Regions from separate parts of the Homo sapiens genome. Here region 1 is linked to region 2. The links are contacts of gene promoters, found by promoter capture Hi-C in blood cells and fetal thymus (Javierre and others, 2016). All regions are on one chromosome and are shown on one strand. The core of a region is centred on a gene start or on the middle of the fragment in contact, and the rest is flanking DNA. Distances in the headings are between cores, read along the strand shown.

What was found. Contacts are between HindIII fragments. The CHiCAGO score rates a contact against its expected background, and 5 or more counts as called.
Region 1: the fragment with the promoter of DUSP9 here is called in contact with the fragment with the promoter of ATP2B3 in region 2 in 5 of 17 cell types (M1 macrophages, erythroblasts, M0 macrophages and 2 more); the score reaches 6.9 in M1 macrophages.

Annotation. Positions count from the first base shown.
Region 1 is chrX:153,642,161-153,648,593 of GRCh38, reverse strand. It overlaps DUSP9 (dual specificity phosphatase 9), which reads right to left and starts at 1,391. Exons shown (of 4, transcript NM_001318503.2): 1 at 1,169-1,391; 2 at 268-675. The coding sequence starts at 640. The HindIII fragment of the contact is 18,543 bases long and covers 1-6,433 here.
Region 2 is chrX:153,515,292-153,521,388 of GRCh38, reverse strand. It overlaps ATP2B3 (ATPase plasma membrane Ca2+ transporting 3), which reads right to left and starts at 3,747. Exons shown (of 22, transcript NM_001001344.3): 1 at 3,514-3,747; 2 at 2,838-2,957. The HindIII fragment of the contact is 7,787 bases long and covers 1-4,858 here.

The sequences.
Region 1 (6,433 bases), core at 142-2,641, 130 kb before region 2:
GGGAGCCCGCACTTTGTAATTCGTTCTTGAGCATCCTGAGAACTAGCTCAGGTCAGGCTAATTCTCCCCATTTTCCAGGCTCAGAGACTGGGCTGCCGAGGGTGAAGAACTTCCCCACGGTCACACTCAGGCTTCCCTCCTCTCAAAGCAGCCTGGCAGGTCATCAGGGGAGGGGGGCCTCAACTCGCTTTAGAAAAAAAGAAGTGGGGCTGGCCTAAGGTCAAATGAATCCCGAACCCCCTGGAAGGAGGGCCCCGCGGCACCTACCCTGGAGGTAGTAGGCCAGGTAGCCTTCCTCTCGCAGCTTCTGCAGCAGGGTGCCCAGCACCGACTCGGCCTCCCACTCCTCGGCCTCGGCCTCGGCCTCCCCGCGCCGGCGCCGGCCCCCGCCCTGGTCGTACAGGAGCACGGGGGCAGGCGGGGGCGGCTGCAGCGGCGGCCCAGGCAGGAGCGCGCGCACCGACAGGCTGCCCCTCCGCAGGCGGCGCAGCAGGAGCGCCGGCAGGGCCACGCTCAGCGCCCCACCGATGCGCGCCGACTCGTACAGCTCGCGGCTGCGGCAGTCCAGGAGCAGGAGCCGCGGCCGCGGGGGCGACAGCTCCCGACGCAGCCACAGGCACGAGCGGCCCAGACCCTCCATGGGCGATCGGCTCCCTACACGCTGGACCACGGGCGCTGCGAAGAGAGAGAAGGCGCGGTGTGAGCTACCGGAGGGCCGAGGGGGCTCAGACTTGAAGCCGGCCCCGCGTCCTGAAGGCGGGAGCCCAGGGTCCCCCACCATGAGGACTCCCAACAAGGCGCCCCAAGAAACCCCCCAGGCAGCAGCTCGGCCCGGGGAAGGGTCCTCGAGAAGAGGGCTGAGCGGCTAACCGCCCCTTCGAGGCTCATCTTGGGGTACCCTGAGGTCGCAGCCGCCTCCCTCCATACCCCCTTTCTGCTCCTGTCTCGGTCTTCTCGCGAACGCTCCCCAAGTTCGAGCTTCCGACTCTGGCTGGGGGTGTGCGTGCGAGGAGTGCCGTTCGAGGCCTAGATCTCCCCCAGGGCCAGGTGGGCCAGGGGAACAGAGGAGGCGCCGAGGTGCTGGGCCTCAGCGAGTCCTCTCAGAGGTGGTCTGGCCCCCGGTCCCCCATCTCCCCCTACCCCTAGGAGAGAACAAAAGGAAAGAGACCTGGAGCGAGATCCGGCGGTGGACGACCGCGCGTGGACGTTCTGGCCACGGCCACTGCCACGGCGGAACGCGAGGCGCCGTCCCGCGGCAGAGAGTCCCCAGGCCTGGCCGCCAGGAGAGGGCGGGGCGGCGGTGCAGGCTCGCACGTGGAAGCCGAGCCCCGCGCAGCCCGCGCAGCCCGCGCACCGGCCGCTTCCTGGCAGCCGGACCCAGCTTCCACCTTGGAAACTGCCTTCGGACGTGGAGTTACAACTCCGAGGGGCGGGCCGGGGCGGGGCTCCGGGGGCGGGCCCGGCGGGCCGGTGAGCCAACGGGTGCTAGCCGAAGCAGTCGGGTGGGACCTGCGAGTCGGCTGAGCTGGGGCTTCCACCGAGGCGGGACGGGGTCGGGGCAGAGGCCAAGGGCAGGTCAGGGGCCCAGCAGGGGACCAGCTGCGGCTCCCCTGGCCGGCGCCAGCCTGGCCTCGGGAGGCAGGGGGAGGGGTGAGGACCAGAGCCCAGCCCCTCTGCCGCAGAAGCTGCCTCCAGCCCAACTCACAGGGTGATACTGGAGCATCTTCTCCCCTGCCTGGATCTCAGTGGCCCCATCTCTGTAATGGGCTCAGAGCTAGCAGCTTGGGCAAACTTGGGATGCCACCGAAATCACGGAGGGGAGGAGGAGGCAGGACCAGAAACTTAGTGCAGCTTTGGCCCAGAGGTCTGCTGCAGGGCTAGGCAGGCAGGGGTAGCTCCTGGATACCTACCAATACCAGCCCGCTTCACTCGCACAGGACTGGCCAAAAGCACCCAGGAACCCTGAGCTCCCAGCCCTAAACTGGGGCACTCTGCTCTTATCACATTACTGATCCTAAGAGTCACCCGTGGCTCCCCCCTCTGCCTCCTTCCCTTAACCCCCCTTCGGCTAATCAAAGTGGAAAGAACTAGTTTCTACCTAAATATCTCTCACATCCACGCCTCTCTCCCCTGTCCCTTGCCCTAGCCGAGGGCTCAAATTCATCAGCTTTAGGCCAGGTCACTGTCACGTCTTGCACAACAGTCTCCCTGCCTCCGGGCCTGCAACGACCTGCCCTCCACCCTGCCCTGCCCAGCCCTGCCCAACGTCAGAATGCCATCCACTCAACCAAGGCTGGTGGCCTCCATCCTTTCCTCCATGGGCACAACAGGCGGGACAGATCCACAGGCAGCAAGAGCACTGGACAAGGTCTCAGGTGTGGTGAGCACTGAGGCAGGAGACCAGGGTCAGGGGGAGGTGTCCACAATGCTGATCTGGCTAAAAGTCCCTTCTCTGCTTAAAGCTCAACAAAAGCAAATAACAGTGTTGAAGGAAAATGTACGCCAGATAAGATAAAGCTCATACCCAACTAAAAGGTTAAGACCCCTGTAGATAAATGGGCAAAGAACCTGAAAACACTGCATACTGCAGGAAGGAGGGAATGCGGTGGCCTAACAAATATTTGGGGGAAGGTTCAACTTCAGGCGTGGAAGGAAAGCCACTCCAATAAACAAGTAACAATGACCAACGAGGTAACACTTCCCACCTACTGCATTAGAAATGTTCTCATTTTTGAGAACACGCAGTGCTGGCAAGATTGCTGTGAAATCAGCGTGCTGTTCAACTGTTGCAGGGTTATATATTGGTACGGCCCCTTTGGAAATTAATCTGGCAATATCAAGAGCTAGGAAAAAATCCCAACCCTTTGACCACTTTTGGGAATCTAAGGAACTAAAGTAAAAGAAAGCAAAGTTATGCACACGAGGATGGGCACCACAAAGCATTTTTCTAACAAGTGGAAAATGCAAAGCAAACTACGAGTCTAAAGACTCCTCTCAGGAGCCATGGAGTTAGAGGAGAAAATGTCTCAGGTCATGGTTAGGTAAGAGGGCAGGTGACGGAAAGCTAGGTGGGTCACCTCTAAGGGGCTTCCAGTTTGCCTCTCTCCCTCCCTTTCGGGCAGTGGGCTGCTAGCCGGGGACTCCCAGGACCCTGGCACTGGGCTGCTTTCCGGCCACACCCCCCATGTCCCTGCGTCTAACAAGAGTCCTAATTCCTGCATCCAAGGGCTTTGGGCAGCTGGACTGTGCCCTTCCTTCTCTCACCCAGTGGGCAAGGGCCCCAGCCCAGGCCTCCCTCCTATGCCCCCTGCCCAGATTCTGAGATTCTGCTCATTCTTCAGGCCCCCTCCTCCAGGCAGCCTTCCCAACTCGGAGCCAGTAGTCTCCCTCCTCTGTGCTCCCTAGTGTGGTCACTTTCCCCCTTTCTCAGTGTGTTCCTGGGGCAGGGACTTTGTCTTCTGTTTTCTGTCCACAGCCTAGCTCCACAGTGGTGGAGGTGGACACCGGCACCCAGCCTGGGGGCTGCCTCCAGGCCCACTGCAGCTGTGGGTGGGAGCTCAGAGTGGGCAGGGGTTGAAGGCACCACGGAGGTTCTGCCATGTGCCAGTCTTGTTGTGGAGAGTGGGGGTGGCGCAGGGCTGTGACCAGCAGGGAGCTGGACAGCCACTTCCCCGGCCCGCCCTGCCGTGGGGGCTCAGTTCGGCTAGAGAGGGAGCTCCTGAGCTGCTCAGTGGCGCTCTCTGGAGAGGGTTCCCTGGAGGTGAGAGGAGCTGGGCTGGAATGAGGACGGGGAGAGGCAACCTCCGCAATGGGGAAGGGAGGGGAAGCCTAGGATCCAAGGGTCCACGTCTCCCGACGCTTGGCGAGGGGCTCCCCTGCACCTAACTGCGGAGCCCTGCTGCCAAGTCCTCGCACCGGGAGAAAGCATTTGGGAGGAGGCCATGAGGGGCTCAATTTCCAAAGTCAGAGCTCAGTGCTCGGGGCCCACAGCGCCCGCAGCGCCAGCAACAGGACAAATGGGAACCTGTTGCCACCTCCGCACTGCAGGGCTGAGCGCAGCCAACCCCCTAATCCCCCTCTCACCCGCGACCCTCGCCGGGCCGCCCCCACTCAGGCCCCCTGTAGCGCCGGCTCTGGGCGCCGCCCCGCCGGCAGCCGCTCCCGGGTGCGCTGTGCTGGGGGAGGCCGCGCCGCGCGCCCGGGCCTCGTCTGGCCCCCTCCGGCGGGCTGAGCCAGGCCGCGCGCTCGCTGCCCGCCGCAGGGTGGGCGCTGCGCCTGCCGCCCCCGCCCCCGCCCCCGCACCCGCCCCCGCCGGGCGCCCCGGGCCTCCGCCGGGCCGGGCCAGCGCCCCCTGGAGGCCGCGGGGACGCCGCCGCCTGCAGGCCTCGCGCGCGCCGCGTGCGCCCTCTGGTCCCGGGAGCCTCCCGAGAGCGGCGCCGCGCCGCCTTCCCCCACGAGATGCACCGTTCCCGCCGGGCCGAGTGACAGGATTTCGGCTGTCGCGGCCGGGTCACATGGCCAAGAGCACAAGTCCCGGCGACAGCGTGCCTGCCAAATCCAGTGTCTTTTCCACCAAATCCACTTTCTGCTGGGGATGGCTTTCTGCTTTTCCTGGTCGGTCTCCTCGCGGGACTGGGAGTTCCTCCAAGGCAGGAACGGGTGTGTGCCCGGCCCCAGGCTGGCCCCAGCCCCCAGTGCAGGGCCTGGCACGCGCCCGGCGCTCGCGGAAGAAATGCTCGTTAACAAAGAAGGCATGAATGAATGAAACCAATTGTTGCCTGAGGGAGCTGCTCCTGCTTTTCCTTCTGCCGATCACACACTCCTCCCCCACCCCGACACGCACAAGCACACGTGCACACACAGCCCTCCCCGTAACACACACGCAGGCAGGCACCCAGACAGCGCGCGCGGACGCCAGCCCCCATGGAACCCACCTACTACGTGCTTGCCGGGCAGCTGGCGCCCCTTTGGTCCCACCTGGGCCGCCTCCATTTCAGCGCCGGGCTCTCTCCGCCGCCTCCCCGCCCCTCCCCGGGGCCCCTTGCTTCCACATCTAAGTACCCTACCTTGGACCCCAAAGTGCCTTCTTTATTTCTTAGGGAAGAGGCCAAGCTAGTCGCTGGGGAGTCTCAAGGTCTGTTTAGGGAGGCACCTGGGGGGCCCAAGGCTGCTGAGCCTCTGCCGAAGGGGAGCCAGAGGTGCCTGGCAGGGATGCCACCAAATGCTGCAGCCTCTAGAGCCCGCGTGCCAGGTGTTGGGGGTGAGGGAGGGAGGGACTCAGAGATGTGCTGGGGGGTGTCGAAGGCTATTTGTGATGGGGGCGGGGCAGGATGCTGGAGAGCGTGAATCCAGCAGGTGTGCGCGCGTGCTGGGGTGGATGAGAGTGCGCGTTGGAGATGCTGGAGGTGTGTGCCTGGGACGTGGGGAGCGTCAGCCACTGGGATGTGGGTTTCTGACGGGACCTCGCTCCAGGATGGGTGGACTGCAGTGTCTCTGGGCTGGCAACGTGGGTGGGGTGTCTGTAATGGGCAGATGGGGAGTTCGAGGTGGTGGGGGCATGGTAGGGGGAGCTATGTTGGTGCAGGTATGGCAGAGACGTGTTGGAAGCGTGCGTGTGCGCCTGGGTGTGTACTGGGGCGTGGCAGGGTCTCGGTGGGTTGGCATGAGTTGGGGACAGTGGTGAGTGGTGGGGCAGGGGCAGCTAGTGTGTGCACTACAGGCACCCGGGTCTGTGGTGCGTGGTTTGTATGCGCGCGAGTGTGCAGCCGGTGCAAGTGGCAGGAGACACGGGAGGTGCACGGGCGGCGTGCGGGGGTGTGCGGAGCAGCACCGAATGGGTGTCGTAGGGGCGCGTGCGCCGGCTTCGTGGGGTGTGCGTTGTCAGGACTTTGGGGGTGCAGGGTGGAGGAGCGCACGTCGGGGCGGGGGCAGCCAGGCCGGGTGGGGGGTGGGGGTCCCCGGGGCGCCGCTTGCTCCACTCACCTCCGCTCTGCTCGGTTCTCCGCGCCGGTTCCCTGCGTCGCGGCCGGGAAGTTTCCGAAGCTCGGGCGGCGGGAAGCGCCACTGCTGCAGCCTAACGCCACCGGAACCCCGGGTGGCGGCCTCTCCTGGAGCCGAGGGGCAGCCGCCGCCGCCGCTGCGGAGGGAAACTCCAAATCCCGCCTCCGCCGCCGCTGCCTCCTCCGCCTCTGCCGCCGCCTCCTCCCCTCCAGTCGCCGTCTTCTCCGCCCCCTGCCCAGGAGGGGCACTGTAGCTGGCGGCTCGCGGGGAGGGAGCGGGGAGGGGCCGCGGCCTGCCCGGCGTCTCCCTCCACCTCCCACGCCCCCCCCACCCCCCGCCGCCTTCCTCCCACCTGCAAGCCTCTGTTCTCTAGGCCAGTCCTGCCCGACGCGCCCTGCGCTCCCCGGTCCCCAGTGGCGCCAATGAGTGGGGG
Region 2 (6,097 bases), core at 2,498-4,997:
GATGCCCGAATTCCCCTGCATTTGAGAGCCTGCTTCCCTCTGCCCCAGTGACGCGTGGCTCTGATCCTTCTCCGCAGGCTCCCAGGCCCACTGCCAGCACCGCCCACCCAACAGAAGGAGCCCAGGCAGGGGAGGGCTTTCCAGCCAGGCGCTGCTTGGCCTGGCTTCTGCCAGCTTAGCCAGGGTGGGGAAGGGAGGAGCCCTGTGCATGCTCCAGGTCTCTGCCTGGCATACCCAGCCCGGGGCGTTGCTGGGGAGCTTGCTGCAAAGTCACAGCAAGAGGCTTAGAGGGAAGTGTTTGCCTTCAGTACCATGGCACAGGTCCCCATCTATCAGCTGCCATTTACGTGCACTGCCAGTGCTTCCGGGTGCCCTGAAGGGGCCATGAATGCAGAGCTAAACCGGTCCCTGAGTTGCTGGAGACTGATATAAATCCACCTGTTGTCCATTTCTCTCAGTGGGTAGACGGGGCAGAGGTGCAGGTGGCTCAGCTTCTGAGCTGCAAGGTCTTCCCAAGAATCCCCGGCTTCAGCCCACAAGGCTGGGAGTACCCGAGACAGTGAGTTCACACGAACCACACTCTACTCTGCTGACTTCCGCACACACTTCTGGAGATACAGGAACTAATGGCTACAAGCACAGACCAGACTCCGGAGCCTGATGGACTACATTCCAGCCCTGGATTTGCTACCTACTGGCTGTGTGACCTTGGGCAAGTTACCTAGCCTCTCTGGGCCTCAGCCGCAATGCAAAATGGGGATAACAGCACTTGCAATCATTTGTTGTTGTTTCAATTAAGTGGGCAAGGAAATGTCTGTGCAGCACTCAGTGTCTGACATAAAGTGACTGCCATTATAACTATTATCATTGTTGACATTACTTGATGTGCTACTGACCACTGATGGAGACAGTGGCCATTGGTGAAATACACAAGCCATCAGTTTAAAATCAGAGGGGAGTTCATATGTGCTGATGACTTGCTCTGTGAGGTGGGGGAGGAGGTGAAAAGGCCAGAAGAAGCTCTGCCTGGCTCTGCTGGCTGCAAGAGGCCCAGAGGGTACTCAGCTCTCAGAAGCCCCTGGGGCTCTGGGGCGCCCTCATCCTGTCTACCGGGCAGGCAAGGCGCCCCTTTCCACAAGACATTCTCAGAGGGTCCTCCACGGCTGACCCCGGCACTCCGTGGCTGCATCCCTGGGCTGGGAGCAGACGTTCTGGGATGGAGAGCACTCACTGACTCACAGGCTTGGCTTCTCCTGCTAGTGAATGATTCAACCTCTGAAGCTCCAGCTCCCCCAGGCCCACCCCCACCCTCCCTGGATCTGGAATGGAGAAGGGACTTGGCCAAGGTCACAAAGACCATCAGGTAAGGGGCTGCTGTCACTGAAGCCCCAGGCACCCTCACGAGCCTCCTCTGGCCCCTTCCTTGCCCCTCGGGGGCCGATTGGGGCATCTCCATCACCTGGCATTGTGGCTGTCCCCTGGCATGCTCTTTGCCTTAGGGGCTTCCTTCCTCAGGGACCGGCTCTCCTTCTGGCCCTGTGCAAGGCCCCCTCCCACGCCCGCCCCACTTCCATCTGCCCGTTACCCCCTGCTGTGTGAGAGCATGCCTACTCCTGCACTCAAACCACCTGGCCGTGCAGGGCACGGCCCAGGTGGAGCTGATGGAGACTGGCTGTGTCCTTGGCTGTCCCCCGCCTCGGGGCCTGCAGCAGTGACAATCAATGGCCGGGGACCACAAGTTCCCAGCCCGTTCCGATGGCGCAGACTTGAGGGGCTGACCTCACCCTGGGACCCTCTGCTGGGTCTCAGCTGTGTCCCACAGGGGCCCAGGCATCCCCAGCCCTCTCCTCGGCATCCCAGTGCCCCTTTAATGAGCCACATGGCTTCGGTTTCCTCATCTGTGAAAAGTGGCGGCGGGGGGTGGGGGTTGGGGATGAAAACAGCCATTCACTCGTGTGGTTGAGGTGAGACTCAGATGGAGCTCAGGAAGTGGGGCTGGTCTTTGATTATTACGATAACCTCTCCCCGCCTCCCTGCCCCACCAGGTTCATAGGAATGTCCCTAGCCATCTGCTCATGAAGGAAGGGGCCTCAATTCAGGGCTGAATCCCTTCTCCTCTTGGGGGCCTCAATGATCCCATCTGAAAAATGGGGACAAAAATCCAGGCCTTGCCTCTCCTGTTCAGTGAGTCTGCAGATTCAGTGAGGTCAAGGTCATGAATATGCCATGCAGAAACCAGGTGCCCACTCTGTGCCAGGCCTGTGCAAATGAAGAGCCAGTCCTTGCCTTAAGATGGTCACTGACTAGTGAGGGGCAATGGCAGGGGGTGAGGGCACAGATCCTAGTGGGCAAAGGAGGGGAGGAGGTGCAGGGGGTGCCTGCCAGACTGGTGCCCAAGTCAGCCAGGGGAAGTCGGCTGACGTTTAGGGTGCCAGTGGAATTCAGGATGGGGGCCAGTTGGGGACAGGCTGGACTTGATCCTTTAGCAGGCAGGGACTCCTTTGAGGTCGGAGGCCCTGGGCTTCATCTTTGAAAGTTATATGACCTCGCCAGGAAATGGCAAGCATCTCGTTGAGGAATTCTGGTCCCTTCCCTGCCCCTTGAGTGAGCGAAGGAGCATTTCCACAGTCTCTCCTAAACCCTCATGGAGCCCTCACCGCGGGCTCTCCAAGACTCCCTCCAGTCCTGACCTGCCCCGGCGCCATGCCCCTGCCCTGCCTCCCACCCCTCCTCAGCCGGCTGGCTGAGCCACCAACCCCCAGAAGGGCCAGCAGAAGGAAGGACACCAGGTCACAGAGAGAGAAGCCCATCGTCTCAGGCTCTGGGAGATGCCGCACCTGCCATTCCAAATTCCAGAATCTTAAAGCCAGAGCTTTCACCCGTGAGAAAACGCAGGCGGCCACAGGAAAAGCTGGCTGGCCAAGGTCACACAGGCGAGGAGGGGGAGACAGCCGTTCCTGGAGGGATGGAGAAGTTACCTAAGTGCGGCCCCGGGCGGCTTCTCGTGGGCACTGCCCATGACCGCGGTGGGGTCTGCTGGGCAGCCGCGTGGGCGTGCGGGGAACGGTGCGGGAAGGCGAGAGGGGAAGGATGATACAGTGTGAGGGCGCGGGGGGGAGGGGGTGCCCGAGGCTCCGGGAAGGTGCGTGCGCACTGGCGGGCTCCCGGCCCAGATCCCGCGCCCCCGGCTGCGCCCACCCTGAGCCCCGGCCCGCAGCCCCCAAGGGCCTTGTTCCTCAGACACGGATGCGCGTGCGCGCGCGATGCGGGGCGCAGGGTGCAGGGTGCGGGGCGCTGCCCGCCGGCCTGGGGCCCCGGGGTGACGCGCGGCCGCAGTGCCGCAAGGACACGCAGGCCCGGCGCGGGGCTCAGGTGCCTCGGGCGGGGACCCGTGTCCCCCTACCTGCCGCCGCACCACCTGCCGGGTCATCCTCCCATCCCCACCCGCGCCTTGTGCCCGCGCCGCGCCCGCGCCCACCCCGGCGGCGCCCGCGCGCCCAGAGCACCACTTACCCGGGCATGGGCACGGCCGCCGCCGCGGCCTCGGCTCCGGCGGGCGCTGTCGCTGCGGGCGGGCGTCAGGCGGGCAACGATCCGCTCCAAGGATGGAAAGGCCTGGGCACGGGGCGGCCTGGCCGGCGGCGCGGGACGCGACCCTCTGCGGCGGGCGAGGGCTGCGGCCGAGTGCTCCCCACGCTCTGCACCGGCGGCGGGCGACGCGGCGCGCTCGGCTCCAACCGCAGCTCTGAGCGCGGAGGGAGGGAGGGGGGAGGGGAGGGAGCTGGGTGAGGAGGAGGGAGGGAGGAGGGAGCGGGCGCGGGGGGCGGTGCGCGGCGCAGGGGCCTCGGGGCTCAGGAGCTACGCGCCCGGTGCGCGCCCTTCTGTCCCCAGGACGCGCGAGGGTGCCCGCCCTTCCTGGCCTGGCATTGCCCCCAAAGGGCACTGGCCGAGTGGGGGTGGGTGGGGATGGAAACTGGGGGACCATGGCACCTGTGAGTGCAGAGAGAGCACCCTGAGCTTGCGACTGAGGCTGCCACTACCTCTCCAGACCCTGCCCTCTAGGTGCGTCTCCCCAACAGTAAAATGGGGCACAGAGCCGGGTGGCTGATGTGTAGCGTGGGGTCCTTGGGTCTTGCCTCAGTGGACTCCAAGGCATTGGTGGTCTCCTGCAAACTCCATTACCTGTTGAGAGTACGGGCGTCCAAATGCGTCTTCCCAGAGGAAGCGGCGCTTACCGGAGATCCTCACCGTCGGTTATCACGGGAACACCACCGTTAGGCAGAACACAGAGACTGCACACAGGTGGGCACCAGAGACAGACACGCAGGGGCACATACATCCCCGGTGTGAGTGGAGACAGACACACAGACAAACCCCAGTGCAGACACCTGTCCACACCCACAAGCACGCGTTCCCACCTACCTGGAAAGAGACCCCCGTGCCTGCCGGTGGACCCCCAGGCTTCCCAGCTCCAGGGGCTGTGGAGGCCTCTGACCCCAGGGCCGGCCTTTGCGAGCATTCTGAGCAGCGAGCAGAGAATGCTCGCTGGGGCACAGGTAGAGGCTCTGGGCGGGAGCCTGAGGCAGGTGCAAGAGGCCTGGACGCAGCCTCAAATTCTTTCTTGCCTTGGACAAAGAGGGCCCTGGACATGCTGTGTGCCAGACCAGAGCTGAATACTGGGGACACAGCAGGGACCACAAAGCAGGGAGTGGCCGTCGGATGGCAAATGTGCTCACGCCGCTGGGGTCGGAGCTATGGAACCCCATTGATGGGGAGCCATGAAAGAGGCTGCTGGCGGCTCAGGGAAGGCCTCTTTGAGGAGGCACCACTGTGCTAGGGACCAAAAGGACAGAAAGCTTCTGCTGCCCCTGAGACCAGGGAACCGTCACAACCCCCACAGACTGCCCCTCCCTTCCACAGGAAGCAGCTGGTGCCGTGGAAAGCTGAGGTTCGCGCACGCACGCACACACACACTCATACACCTGGTCATGTGTGCGCTCACACATGCTTACTCACACCCACTCACATGCACGCACACATACTCACACCTGCTCATATGCATGAACTCATGCTCACTCACCTACTTACACAAACACACACTCACACACTCATGCACACACTCACAATCTCACGCAGACACATCCTCACAGTCATATGTGCTCACTCACCCTCACCCACACAAGCTCGGTGGCCCACACAGTTACACAATGGTTCACACATATTTACATGCTCTCACACCTACACAACTCACACACTTACCCAGTGAGCACACACATGGGCACATACATACACACACACTCACACACAGTTACTCACAGTCACACTCACACACACACTCCCCACTCACACTCTCACACATATTCATTTGCACACTCCCGCAGTCCCCTTCCACTCCAACTCTGAGGCAGCTTTTCCTGAGCCTGGGGCGTGTGCTCCTCCGGGCCCAGAGCCGCCATGGGGACACCCCCTTCTCACACACACACAGCCTGTGACTTCCCATGGCCCCGAATGGGAAAAATCAAGACTGAAGCAAGCCCCAATGATGCTGGAAACTTATCATGAGCTAAGTTCTGGCCATTTCGCCAGAGCCCTGCCATCTTGGAGTCGTTCCTCTTACTAGCCCACATTCCAGATGGGGAAGTGGAGGCCCAGAGGGCACTGGATCCCACCCGGAGCAGGTTGTAAGCTGGACTTTGGCCCCTGGCCGGGAGGCCAGCTGCCCCCATGCCCTCAGGCACCACAGGAGGGCAGAGGAGCTCCTTTCCCCAGCGCATTCAGGCCACGTTCCTTCTTGGCCTCCCACACTGTGGCAGGCTCCCTGGGGTCATGTCCTTCCATCCCAGGCCCAAGGGCCCTGCTCTGGAGTGAGCAAAGGCAGAAGCAGGCTGCTGAGCTGGCCTCCTTTCGTGGCCCCCAGCAGGAGCATCCCTTGGGCAAGGGTTGGGTCCCGGCTGAAGACAAGCACCTCTTAGCAGACATGTGTGGGCAGCTCTGGGAGGGCAGGTGTGGGGCTGGGGAGACCCACACTTAAAGGCTTAGGAGTGGCTGTGAGAGCTGACAAGCAAAGAGAAGAGTCCCTTTGGGCTGCGTCACTGTC